Linked DNA regions of Homo sapiens: region 1 is linked to region 2. Evidence: promoter capture Hi-C in 16 types of primary human blood cells and fetal thymus (Javierre and others, 2016). All regions are on one chromosome and are shown on one strand. Each heading gives the region's core, a stretch centred on a gene start or on the middle of the fragment in contact. The rest is flanking DNA. Distances are from core to core; before and after follow the strand shown. Region 1 holds the start of PTGDS (prostaglandin D2 synthase). Region 2 holds the start of CCDC183 (coiled-coil domain containing 183).

Region 1 (5,484 bases), core at 1,899-4,398, 180 kb after region 2:
GGCCTTGGGGAGAATTTCTTGCCCCTAGAGGAGCCCTGAGCTGCCCCCACCGCACCCGGCCCTGGTCTCCCCGGCTACAATCTCAGGGGTGCTCCTGCTCTGCCCCTGACTTGTCCAGAACACTCCACAGCGTCTCAGTGATCCCGGGCACTGCCCTTCCCTATGGAAGATCCTCAGCGGGGCAGCTCTGGCAGGAGTGAGCCTCTGGGGCCGTGAGGCTTGGGTACCTCTGAAAGGTGGGGTGTAGAGGCTGCCCCTCCCCAGTCCCAGGCTGGGGGAGTTGATCCCAGGCTGCAGGTGGGTGGGGCTCACGAGGTCCCCATGAGTTTATTTGAGGCTGGTGGACACTCAGTCGAGCTCAGCTCCCACCAGTCACTGGGACAGCCTCGGCCCTCAAGGGCAAACCATTGGTGGGGATGCTGGACAGGGTCATCACTGCCCCCGGAGGATGCTGGCCGGGGCCCCAGGGTGGAGACAGCTTCCCTCCAGGAAAAGGTTGGGGTCAGTTCTGGGAGCTTAGGCCCAGGCCACCAGGCTTGTCCATGACCTGCCTGGGCCGCAGGCAGGGGGATGGCCTTGGTGACCTCTTAGGGTGGAGGCCAAGTCTTTGCATTTTGTGACTCAAAGAGACTGGTTCCCAGAGAGCAGGGTGGGGCGGCCAGCCTTCTTCCTGCCCAGCCCTCCGCCAGGCTCCACTAAGGTCCTGCCTGGCAGCCAAGCTCAGAGCAAAGGGAAGGGCACAGAGAGTGTGCAGGGTGGTCCTTGTCCCTGCCCAAGCTGCAAGAGGCTCTGCGAAGGTCCCTCCTGCCCCTGTCCACCTTGCACAGTCCTAGCCGGGGGAGGAGGGGAGAAATCTGGCGTGCCAGGAGCTGGCAACTGCCCAGCCCTTCCTGGATGTGGTGAGAGATGAATCTCCAGCCCTCGGGTGGGCCCAGGTGCACCCATGAATCAGGGCTCGTGGGCAGCTCCCACTCACTGGTCCTCACTCAGCCGTGTCTGGGGAGTGTCTCTGACCACCTGCTGGCCATCTTGACCACAGGGACTGAGGAGTCCGTCCTGAACCGAAGCATGATCCTGTTAGCTCTTCCAGCTCTCCAGGCGCCAACGACCATATGGTCTCGGTAACGACTGGTCAGGGAGGAGAAGGGACATGGGACCTGCTGGGCTTTCTGCAGCCCACTAGAAAATGGGGAAGAGGAGGGGCTTGGTCCCTGTTCCAGGCACTGGGTTTGAGGGCTGGACACCCGAGATCCCTGGGAACCCCTCTGGCTATGGGAGGACCCGGCCCCATCAGACTTCAGAGTCCCTCCCTGGCAGGTGACCCAGGCCTGCCCAGACGGAAGCCATTCAGACCCAGAGCCACGTGTCCTGGGTCTCCCTGCCCCGGGCCACCCGCCACCACACCCCAGAGCTTGCTCACCACCGGGAGGCGCTCTTGTCCTGGACCAGCCTAGCCTGGGTTGGGACCTCCAGCCAGGCCAGTCAGCGAGCCACCAGCCCCACCAGAGTGGAATGACAGCCAGGACTCAGCTGGCAGCGGGCAGGAGGCCAGTCTTGTGGTGATATCCCAGCCGCAACTCTCTTCCTGCCCCTCCCCTGTCCTGACGGCAGCCCCCAGCTCTGTAGCTGAGCCAGGCTTGCGGGCCACGCGGGGTCCCGGGTTTAGGCACCCCACCCCTATCTGTTCCAACAGACTCTCCCTCTCAGCCCATGGCACAGATGGCATCTGAGCTAGCAGCACGCTGCTGCTTCAGGCAGGGGTTGATAGGAGGTCCAGGTGGAGGAGTGGGTTCTCAGGACTGCCTTGGCCCCCCTGCACCGCTGCCCTCCTTCTCCCTGCCTCTCAGGTGCCTCCCGGCTCCCTGGGACTCACTCCCTCACCTTGGCCTCTGCCTGGGATGCTACCCGGCCACCCCCACCAGCCCTGACACCAGTGCTGCCCACTAGCCCCTGCTGCTACATAGGCATGCGCCTCCCCCAGTCTGGGCTCCTTGACCCCCGGGCACTGGGGAAGGGGAACAAGGAAGCAGTCCACACCAGCCCACTCCCAGGGCTCGTGCGCCCCCAGCAAGGGATGGGCCACAGAATCCAGGAAGAAGACGGGCTCCGGCCCCCAGTGGTCGCCAGCAGCCCCGTAGAAGCTCACCACCCCACCCCATCCGACTCACTCCTGCTCTCATGTACATTTCCCAGCTCCCCACCCGGGCTCACCTTCAGACCAGCGGCAGCGCTCACCCACCACGCCTGCCAGGGAAGCTCAGTCCCAACAGAATCCAGAGAGGGCCCACCACATGTGCCTGCCTGTGACGGCCTGTGACAGGGCCCCAGCCAGGGCCAACGAGCTGGAGGGGCCCAAGGAGCTGGGTGCAGCGCTGGGGTAACAGGACAGCCCCACGGGGTGCTCCCGAGTCTGGACCAGACTCGGGGTGGGGAGGCCCAGACTCGGCGGGGGGCAGACTTGGGGTGGGGGGATTGCTGGGGGAAGTTGGGGCCTCTGGCAAGGGATAGGGCCTGTGCTCAAGCCCAAAGGTGCCCCAGGCTGAAATGGGCACCCAGGGGTCACTATCAGAGCCCCAACAGCTGGCCATGGGGGAAGCCATGCCCAGCAAACCTGGCCCTCGGGACCCTGCGGGCCAGATCAAGTTTCTCTACCTTGGCCTGAGCTTCTCATCAACACTTCACTTGCTGGGCGTTTCAGGACCAAACTCTCAGGGTGGAAGTGGGGCTTGTGTCCCCTTCTGGGGTGGCAGGGCTCGGAAAGGGAATGATGGTAGGGGCTGTGAGATGTGGGTCCTGGCCCCCAGTGGGAAGTCACCAGAGGCCTCGGAGGCGGGCATGGCTGAGGAACACAGCCCCTGCCCTATCAGGGCCGCTGGGTTGGTGGGCCCTGCCAGCAGGAGGAGGGTGGGCAAGGTCCCTGCCAGCTCTGTCTCTGGGACCAGTGGGCAGGGGCCTCTGCCTCACCCCCACGCTGCCTCAGCTGGGGCAGCAGGCCCAGGCCTCTTGCATAAGCGCCCTGTGGGGGACGAGGCTGCAGCTGTGCCTGGCCACCCCATCCCCCAGCATCACGAGTGTTCAGTGGGCTGTCCCCGGGCCCTGGGTGGAGGCCAAGCCTGGCCCATAAATAGGGGTCTCCTCAGTGCCCTCCGCTCCTCCTGCACACCTCCCTCGCTCTCCCACACCACTGGCACCAGGCCCCGGACACCCGCTCTGCTGCAGGAGAATGGCTACTCATCACACACTGTGGATGGGACTGGCCCTGCTGGGGGTGCTGGGCGACCTGCAGGCAGCACCGGAGGCCCAGGTCTCCGTGCAGCCCAACTTCCAGCAGGACAAGGTGAGGGGCTTTCCTGCGTCATCCCCAAGGGCTACAGGACCCTGTCAGGGGAAGGGCACTTTCCGGCTGGGTCTTCCCCCTGGGAGGAGTGAGCGAAGTCCCGCAGTGCCGGGCAGTGCCGGCCAGGGACTGAGCGGGCGCGCAGGAAGGAGGCTGGGTAGCCGCCCGAGGAGGCTGCCCGCGAGAAGCCCTCCCTGGGCACCGCGTCCCGTCTCCCCTGATGGGCCACGCAGACACCGGGCCACACACGCGCCCACGCCAGCCAGACACGTCCACCCCTGTGGGCACGCGACCCCCAGAGGACACACGAGCGCACGTTCCACACCTGGGTGCCAGGACACGGGCGGGTGGGGCACAGGGATGGCGACAAACACTCCGTGCGCGGTGGGGGTTGGGAGGGACGCGCACCGCACAGACAGCCGGCGACGCGCGCTCTCGCCCGGGAGCTGCTCGGGGAAGCGCCGGAGCGCGGGTCCCCGCGCCGCGCGCCCCTCCCTGGCGTCGAGGAGAACCCCAGCGGTCCGCAGAGCTGAGCCGAAGACCCGCCCCGATCCCCGCCAGGAATGCGACGTCCTCTGCCGCCCGCTGTATGGGCCAGGCGCTCAGCCAGGGCACAGAATCGGGACCGGGGGCGGAGGGGCCGAAGCTGGCTGGTGGGCGGCGTGCGAGGGTGAGGGACTGTCCTCGGGAGGGGCGTGGCCAGACGGGGGTGCTGGGTGTCAGGGGCGTGGCCAGCTTCTGGGGCTGAGGCGTGAGGGGCGGGGCCATCTCCGGGGGAGGGGGAAGTGGGGCGTGGTCATCTCCTGGGGCGGGGCGTGAGGGGCGGGGCCACCTCCCGGGGCGGGGCGGGGGCCTGATGGGCGTGGTCAGCTCCTGGGGCGGGGACGTGAGGGGCGGGGTCAGCTCCTAGGGGGGCATGGGGCGTGAGGGGCGCGGTCAGTTCCCTGGTTGTGGACATGAAGGGCGGGGCCAGCTCTTGGGGCGGGGTCGTGAGGGGCGTGGTCAGCTCCTGGGGCGGGGATGTGAGGGGCGGGGTCATCTCCTGGGGCGGGGATGTGAGGGGCGTGGTCAGCTCCTGGGGCGGAGATGTGAGGGGCGGGGTCATCTCCTGGGGCGGGGATTGAGGGGCGGGGGTCAGTTCCTGGGGCGGGGCGTGAGGGGCGTGGCTGCTCGGGGGATTGGGCGTGGGGGCGGGGCCGGGTTGGAGACCGGAGGAGTAGACGGCAGAGGCGCCCCCGCAGGTAGGCGCAGGTGGGTCCGGAGGGTCCTGGCCGACGCGGGTGGGGGTCGCTCGCCGCAGTTCCTGGGGCGCTGGTTCAGCGCGGGCCTCGCCTCCAACTCGAGCTGGCTCCGGGAGAAGAAGGCGGCGTTGTCCATGTGCAAGTCTGTGGTGGCCCCTGCCACGGATGGTGGCCTCAACCTGACCTCCACCTTCCTCAGGTGGGACAGCGGGCAGGTGGGTTTCTGGGACGGAGAGGTCCAGGGACACCCTCGGGCCTAACCCCTGACCCTGAGGTCACCCACCTACAGGAAAAACCAGTGTGAGACCCGAACCATGCTGCTGCAGCCCGCGGGGTCCCTCGGCTCCTACAGCTACCGGAGTCCCCGTGAGTGGGGCCTCCACCGGCCCCCTGGGCCCAGCCTGGGGGCGACACTTGCCGGGACGACTCTGGGCCAGCCCCCTGCCGCGGAGATCCATGGGGTGGGAGGTGATGGCTGCCCCACCAGCGTCAGAGGCAAAGGCCAGGCCTGGGCGTGACTACCCATGCACAAGTGTTAGGGACAGAGAGACCCTTCCTCCAGGGGGTTGGATCCTCTCTGGAGCCCACCATTGTCTTGTCAGGCCCCTTCCCTGCCCTCTGGAGTTTTCCCCACATAAGCAGCCCCCCAAGGCCCCTCCATATGCCTCCTCCCAATTCTCCTCCCCAGGACCCAGGGGTTTCCTCACTCCCACCTGGGGAATGGCTCCCACGGGGAAACCTCTTCACTTCCGGTTCTGGCAGCGACTTCTGCGGCTGCACCAGGAATCCTGGTTTTCTGAGCCTGGCTCCCCCAGATTCTGGTTTGGGGACAGGGTTCACAGGCTGTGCAGGCGAGAGCAGGGCACTGGCTGGAGAGCAGCCGGGTGGGGGAGCATCCCGGGCCAG
Region 2 (5,894 bases), core at 1,252-3,751:
CTTGCCAGGCACTGGAAAGAAAGTTTATTGAGTACCTACTGGGCCTTCAGAGTGACAGGAAGCTCAAGTTGACAGTGGCTTCAGCAAGATGGAGCTTTATTTTTCTGTTTTTTGTGGTGTTGTCGTCGTTGTTTGGAGACAGAGTCTCGCTCTGTCACCCAGGCTGGAGGGCAATGGCGTGATGTCGGCTCACTGCAACTTCCACCTCACCAGTTCAAGCCATTCTCCTGCCTCAGCCTCCCAAGTAGCTGGGATTATAGGCACCCACCACCACGCCTGGCTAATATTTATTTATTTATTTATTTTGAGATGGAGTTTCACTCTTGTTGCCCAGGCTGGAGTGCAGTGGTGCAGTCTCAGCTCGCCACAACCTCTGCTGCCCGGGTTCAAGCGATTCTCCTGCCTCAGCCTCCCGAGTAGCTGGGATTACAGGTATGCGCCACCATGCCCAGCTAATTCTGTATTTTTAGTAGAGACGGGGTTTCACTATGTTGGCCAGGCTGGTCTCAAACTCCTGACCTCATGTGATCTGCCCACCTCGGCCTCCCAAAGTGCTGGGATTATAGGCGTGAGCCGCTGGGCACCGCGCCGGGCTGAGCTTTATTTTTCTTTCATGTAAAAGTCCAAGTGAGTGGTCCAGGGTTGACAGGGAATCGGGGACCAGGCTCCTTTCAGTCTGCTCCCTGCTGTAATGGTCTCTGTTCCCAAATCTGCCTCATGGCCCCAGGCGGCTGCACCAGCTTCGGCCATTGTGTCTTTATCTCATTTAAGAGGCAGGAGAGAGGGCAGCTTGCCTGCCACTGCTGCTCTCACTCTGTTGGCCTGAACGAAGTCATCAGGCACATCCAGTGCCAGGATGCTCAGGAAGGCAGAGTTGCTCTGGGCAGCCATGCGCCCACTAAAATTCAGGTGTTTTATATCTGAGGAAGAAGGACAGCAGGTAGGCTCTGCCTCAGCTAGATTCCAAGCCTGGCCCCCAAGAACGAGGGGGAGGTAAGCAGACCACACCCTTAGCAGGACATCCCAGCACCCTGAGGGTGAGGCCTGGGTGGGAGGGAGAGAAGGGAGAACCTGGAGTTTGCCTGGACTGGCTTTCCAAAAACAGTGACCAGAAAGGGAAGGGATCTATGTGACAGCACATGGGCAAAGGCCATTGTCGGGCTGGCTTGGGTCCCCCCAAATTTCTGTCCCCCAGGACCTCTGCATGTCTCTGTATTTGAAGACAGGGGCTTTCCAGAGGTCATTAAGGTAAAATGAGGTCATTGGGGTGTCCTCATAAGAAGAGGAAATTAGGACACAGACACACAGAGGGACGGCCACGTGAGGACACAGAGAAGACAGCATCTGCAAGCCAAGGAGAGGGGCCTCAGGAGACACCAGCCCTGCTGACCCGTGATCTCAGCCCCCAGCCTCCAGGCTGCTGTTCACATCCCCCAGTCGGTGGCGCCTTGTTTTTTTGTTTTTTTGTTTTTTGTTTTTTTGAGATGGAGTCTTACTCTGTCACGCAGGCTGGAGTGCAGTGACGCGATCTCAGCTCACTGCAACCTCCACCTCCTGGATTCAAGCAATTCTCCTGCCTCGGCTTCCCAAGTAGCTGGGACAGGCGCCCACCACCACACTGGGCTAATTTTTGTATTTTTAGTAGAAACGGGGTTTCACCATGTTGACCAGACTGGTCTTGAACTCCTGACCTCAGGTGACCCACCCACCTCAGCCTCCCAAAGTGCTGGGATTACAGGCGTGAGCCTCCACACCTGGCCAGTGGCACCTTGTTATGGCCGCCTGAGCCTACTAAGGCAAGGCTGGGAAAAAGTACCCCATCTCGTGTGTACCCCATCTCGTGCATACCCCACAGAGTTCCAGGCTGCCTGGTGCTCCAGGTACTCCCCTCTAAGGGAAGGGTGGAGGGGGTGCAGAGATGGAGAACATACCCTTTCTGGAGTGACACATGAACCCAAGACCCAGTAATTCCCAAAGGAAAGTGGGGGTGAAGCAGGGTGGGCTCCAGACAGCACAGAGAGGTCAGGGACAGAAGTCAGAAGAGATAAGGTGGGGGTGTCCCAAGAGCCAGGTTACCCAGTGCATGGAGTTTGGACTTGGGGCTGGGGGTGGGGGGTGCAGAGGGAGGTCCCGTAAGGCAGTATCAGAATAGTATCAGAATCGTTTTAGGAGGCTCGGCCTGCTGCTTTGTGGAGGATGGCTTGGGGCATGGGAGGGGCCAGGGAGGGAACCCAGTGCAGGTGTGAGCTGCCGGTGCTGCAGACCCATCACAAACCTCCCCCTCAAAGAAAGCACATCCGCCCGGCAGAGCTCCTAAGCCTCGAGCAGCTGCCAGGAGACTCATTTCAATTAGGACACATGTCTGGAGGCCACCCCAAGGTGGCTGGGGGCAGAGTGAGGCAGGAGGCCCTGCAATTCCAGGGTTGCCCAGGCACTGAGAATCCTGGCTCTCATCATAATGGGCTGAGGTTCTGGGGACAATCTGAGTGGCGGCTCTGAGCAAGCTGAGCCCAGGGAGGCTTTGAGGTACACAGGGTCCCTTGGGGGGCCTGAGAGCAGCCATGAGGAGGCACAGTGAGACAGATGTGGAAGAGCAGACCCAGGAGCTGAAGACCATCACTCAGCTCCAGGGTGAGCCTGCACCGCCGTGACCAGTCTCCCTTTCCCGTCTGGGGGTTTCTGGGTGCACAACTTTTTGTGGGGAAAAGAGAGATCAGATTGTTACTGTCTATGTAGAAAAGGAAGACATAAGAAACTCCATTTTGATCTGTACTAAGAAAAATTGTTTCTGCTTTGAGATGCTATTAACCTGTAACTTTAGCCCCAACTCTGTGCTCACAGAAACATGTGCTGTATTGAATCAAAGATTAATGCATTTAGGGCCGTGCAGGATGTGCTTTGTTAACAATGTGTTTGCAGGCAGTATGCTTGGTAAAAGTCATCCCCATCCTCCATTCTTGATTAACCAGGGACACAGTGCACTGCAGAAAGCCGCAGGGACCTCTGCCCAGGAAAGCCTGGGAATTGTCCAAGGTTTCCCCCCACTGAGACAGCCTGAGATATGGCCTCGTGGGAAAGGAAAGATCTTACCATCCCCCAGCCCGACACCAGTAAAGGGTCTGTGCTGAGGAGTAGTGAAAGAGGGAGGCCTCTTTGCAGTTGAGATAAGAGGAAGGCATCTGTCTCCTGCTCGTCCCTGGGAATGGAATGTCTCAGTGTAAAGCCGACCATTCCCATTCGTTCTATTCTAAGATAGGAGAAAACCGCTCTGTGGCTAGAGGCAAGATATGCTGGCAGCAATACTGCTCTGTTACTCTTTGCTACACTGAGATGTTTGTGTAACGTGAAACAAATCTGGCCTACGTGCACATCTGGGCATAGTACCTTTCCTTGAACTTATTCATGATAAAGATTCCTTTGCTCACATGTTTCCCTGCTGACGTTCTCACCACCTGTTGCCCTGCTACACTCCCCTCACCAAGATAGTAAAAATAATGATCAGTAAATACTGAGGGAACTCAGAGACCAGGGCTGGTGCAGGTCCTCGCATGCTGAGTGTGCCAGTCCCCTGGGCCCACTGTTCTTTCTCTATACTTTGTGTCTTTTTTTTTTTTTTTTATGAGATGGAGTCTTGCTCTGTTGCCCAGACGGCAGTGCAGTGGCGCGATCTCGGCTCACTGCAAGCTCCACCTCCTGGGTTCACGTCATTCTCCTGCCTCAGCCTCCCAAGTAGCTGGGACTACAGGCACCCACCACCATGCCCGGCTAATTTTTTGTATTTTTAGTAGAGATGCGGTTTCACCGTGTTAGCCAGGATGGTCTCGATCACCTGACCTCGTGATCTGCCCGCATCAGCCTCCCAAAGTGCTGGGATTACAGGCGTGAGCCACCATGCCCAGCCTCTGTGTCTTATTTCTTTTCTCAGTCTTCATCCCACCTGACGAGAAATACCCGCAGGTGTGGAGGGGCAGGCCCCCTTCACTTTTAGGGGATGTTTGTTTGGAGACAGAGTCTCGCTCTGTCACGCAGGCTCGAGTGCAGTGGCATGATCTCGGCTCACTGCAACCTCCACCTCCCGGGTTCGAGCGATTCTCCTGGCTCAGCCTCTTGATTAGTTGGGACATCAGGTGTACGCCACCACACTCAGCTAATTTTCGTATTTGTATTTTTATTTATTTATTTATTTTGAGACGCAGTCTCGCTCTGTCACCCAGGCTGGAGTGCAATGGTGCAATCTCAGCACACTGCAACCTCCACCTCCCGGGTTCAAGTGATTCTCCTGCCTCAGCCTCCCGAGTAGCTGGGATTACAGGTGCCCACCACCACGCCCAGCTAATTTTTGTATTTTTAGTAGAGACGGGGTTTACCCATCTTGGCCAGGCTGGTCTCAAACTCCTGACCTCAGGTGATCCATCCGCCTCGGCCTCCCAAAGTGCTGGGATTACAGGCATGAGCCACCGGCGCCTAGCTTATTTATTTTTTTGAGACAGAGTCTCATTCTGTCGTCCAGGTGGAGTGCAGTGGTGCAATCTCAGCTCACTGCAACCTCCACCTCCTGGGTTCAAACAATTCTGCCTCAGCCTCCTGAGTAGCTGGGACTACAGGCACACACCACCACACCCAGCTAGTTTTGTATTTTTAGTAGAGATGGGGTTTCACCATGTTGGCCAGGCTGGTCTCGAACTCCTGACCACAGGTGATCCGCCCACTTCGGCCTCCCAAAGTGCTGGGATTACAGGTGTGAGCCACCGCTCCTGGCCTAGGACTTTTAGTTTTAATACAGGGACAATCCAGGACATGGAGGGGAAAACAGACCCCCCTACTGCCCACTCCCTGACAGAGCTGGGAGAAGGGATCAAAGGGACCTGCATGGAGGGACTAAATCAGAGAGAGGGGCTTCAAGGAGACGTGAGCATAAGAGCAACACGGGCCCCAAAGCCAGAATGGACAGGAAAACACCCACCTGCTTCCATGGGCAGCAAATCTGGACGGGACCACAGGACCCTGCCATCCCTCTCCTTTGCCTCACCCTCCCCACCTGTCCACCTCCCCGCACCTGTCCACTGAGAGCCCTTCAGACAGCTGCTGCTGGGCAGTGGAGCGGTGTCCCCCAGGACAGGGCGGGAGGAGGGATCTTGGCCATGGAGGGGGCATCCCCCTGGACCCTGGGGCCTGGGGCCTCCCTGATGCAAGCCTCCCCCAGGGGATTCCAGGCCAGGCCCTTGGCCCAATCCTAGCCACTGTGTCCCCTCCACCTGCCCACAGAGCAGTGTCGGGCACTCCAGATCCAAGGGGTGAAAGAGAATATGGACCAGAACAAGGCCACGCTGGCCCTCCTGCGCAGCAACATCCGCCGCGGGGCCCAGGACTGGGCTTTGGCCAAGAAGGTACACAAACGCCGCCCCTCCCCTCTGCCTGGCGAGCAGGGCAGGAGCTGAGTACACACACACTCGGAGGGCGGGCACCTCCTCTCCACCCCCACCCCAATCTTTCTGGATCCAGGGGGCATGTGAGGAGGGGCTCTGCTAGGACCTGTGCCCTGGGCTCCAGTCACCCCAGCATCCGGTGGGCAGGTTTCCCACCACCCAACCCGAGGGCTTGGCATCTGTGAGCCCACATCCTGCAGCAGGGGCCCCCTCTGGCTCTCCGGCCAGCTAGGGGACACCCAGGCCCTCCTCTGCATACCCCCCTACCACGTCGCCTCCGAACTTGGATGGCCAGGATGGGGTCCCGCGGCTCTCTGCTCCTCGTGGAAGCAGGGATCTCGCTACTGGGCTAGCGTGGGATACAAGAGGCCCTGGGGAGAATGCCTGGAGGAGCCAGCGGCTGCGGGTGCGCAAAGGGCCCGCTCTAGCTCAGCCGCCGCCGCTCCGCAGTATGACCAGTGGACCATC

The links. The method cuts DNA at HindIII sites, captures the fragments that hold promoters and counts their contacts. A CHiCAGO score of 5 or more calls a contact.
Region 1: the fragment with the promoter of PTGDS here is called in contact with the fragment with the promoter of CCDC183 in region 2 in 2 of 17 cell types (activated CD4 T cells and endothelial precursors); the score reaches 6.1 in activated CD4 T cells.

The regions. Positions count from the first base shown.
Region 1 is chr9:136,974,356-136,979,839 of GRCh38, forward strand. It overlaps PTGDS (prostaglandin D2 synthase), which reads left to right and starts at 3,149. Exons shown (of 7, transcript NM_000954.6): 1 at 3,149-3,337; 2 at 4,638-4,777; 3 at 4,868-4,944. The coding sequence starts at 3,224. It also overlaps LOC124902312. RefSeq lists an enhancer at 4,209-5,188. The HindIII fragment of the contact is 17,671 bases long and covers 1-5,484 here.
Region 2 is chr9:136,793,837-136,799,730 of GRCh38, forward strand. CCDC183 (coiled-coil domain containing 183) reads left to right here and starts at 2,502. Exons shown (of 14, transcript NM_001039374.5): 1 at 2,502-2,631; 2 at 5,266-5,387; 3 at 5,877-5,894. The coding sequence starts at 2,562. RefSeq lists enhancers at 1,923-2,424, 5,705-5,894 and a silencer at 3,141-3,435. The HindIII fragment of the contact is 12,043 bases long and covers 1-5,894 here.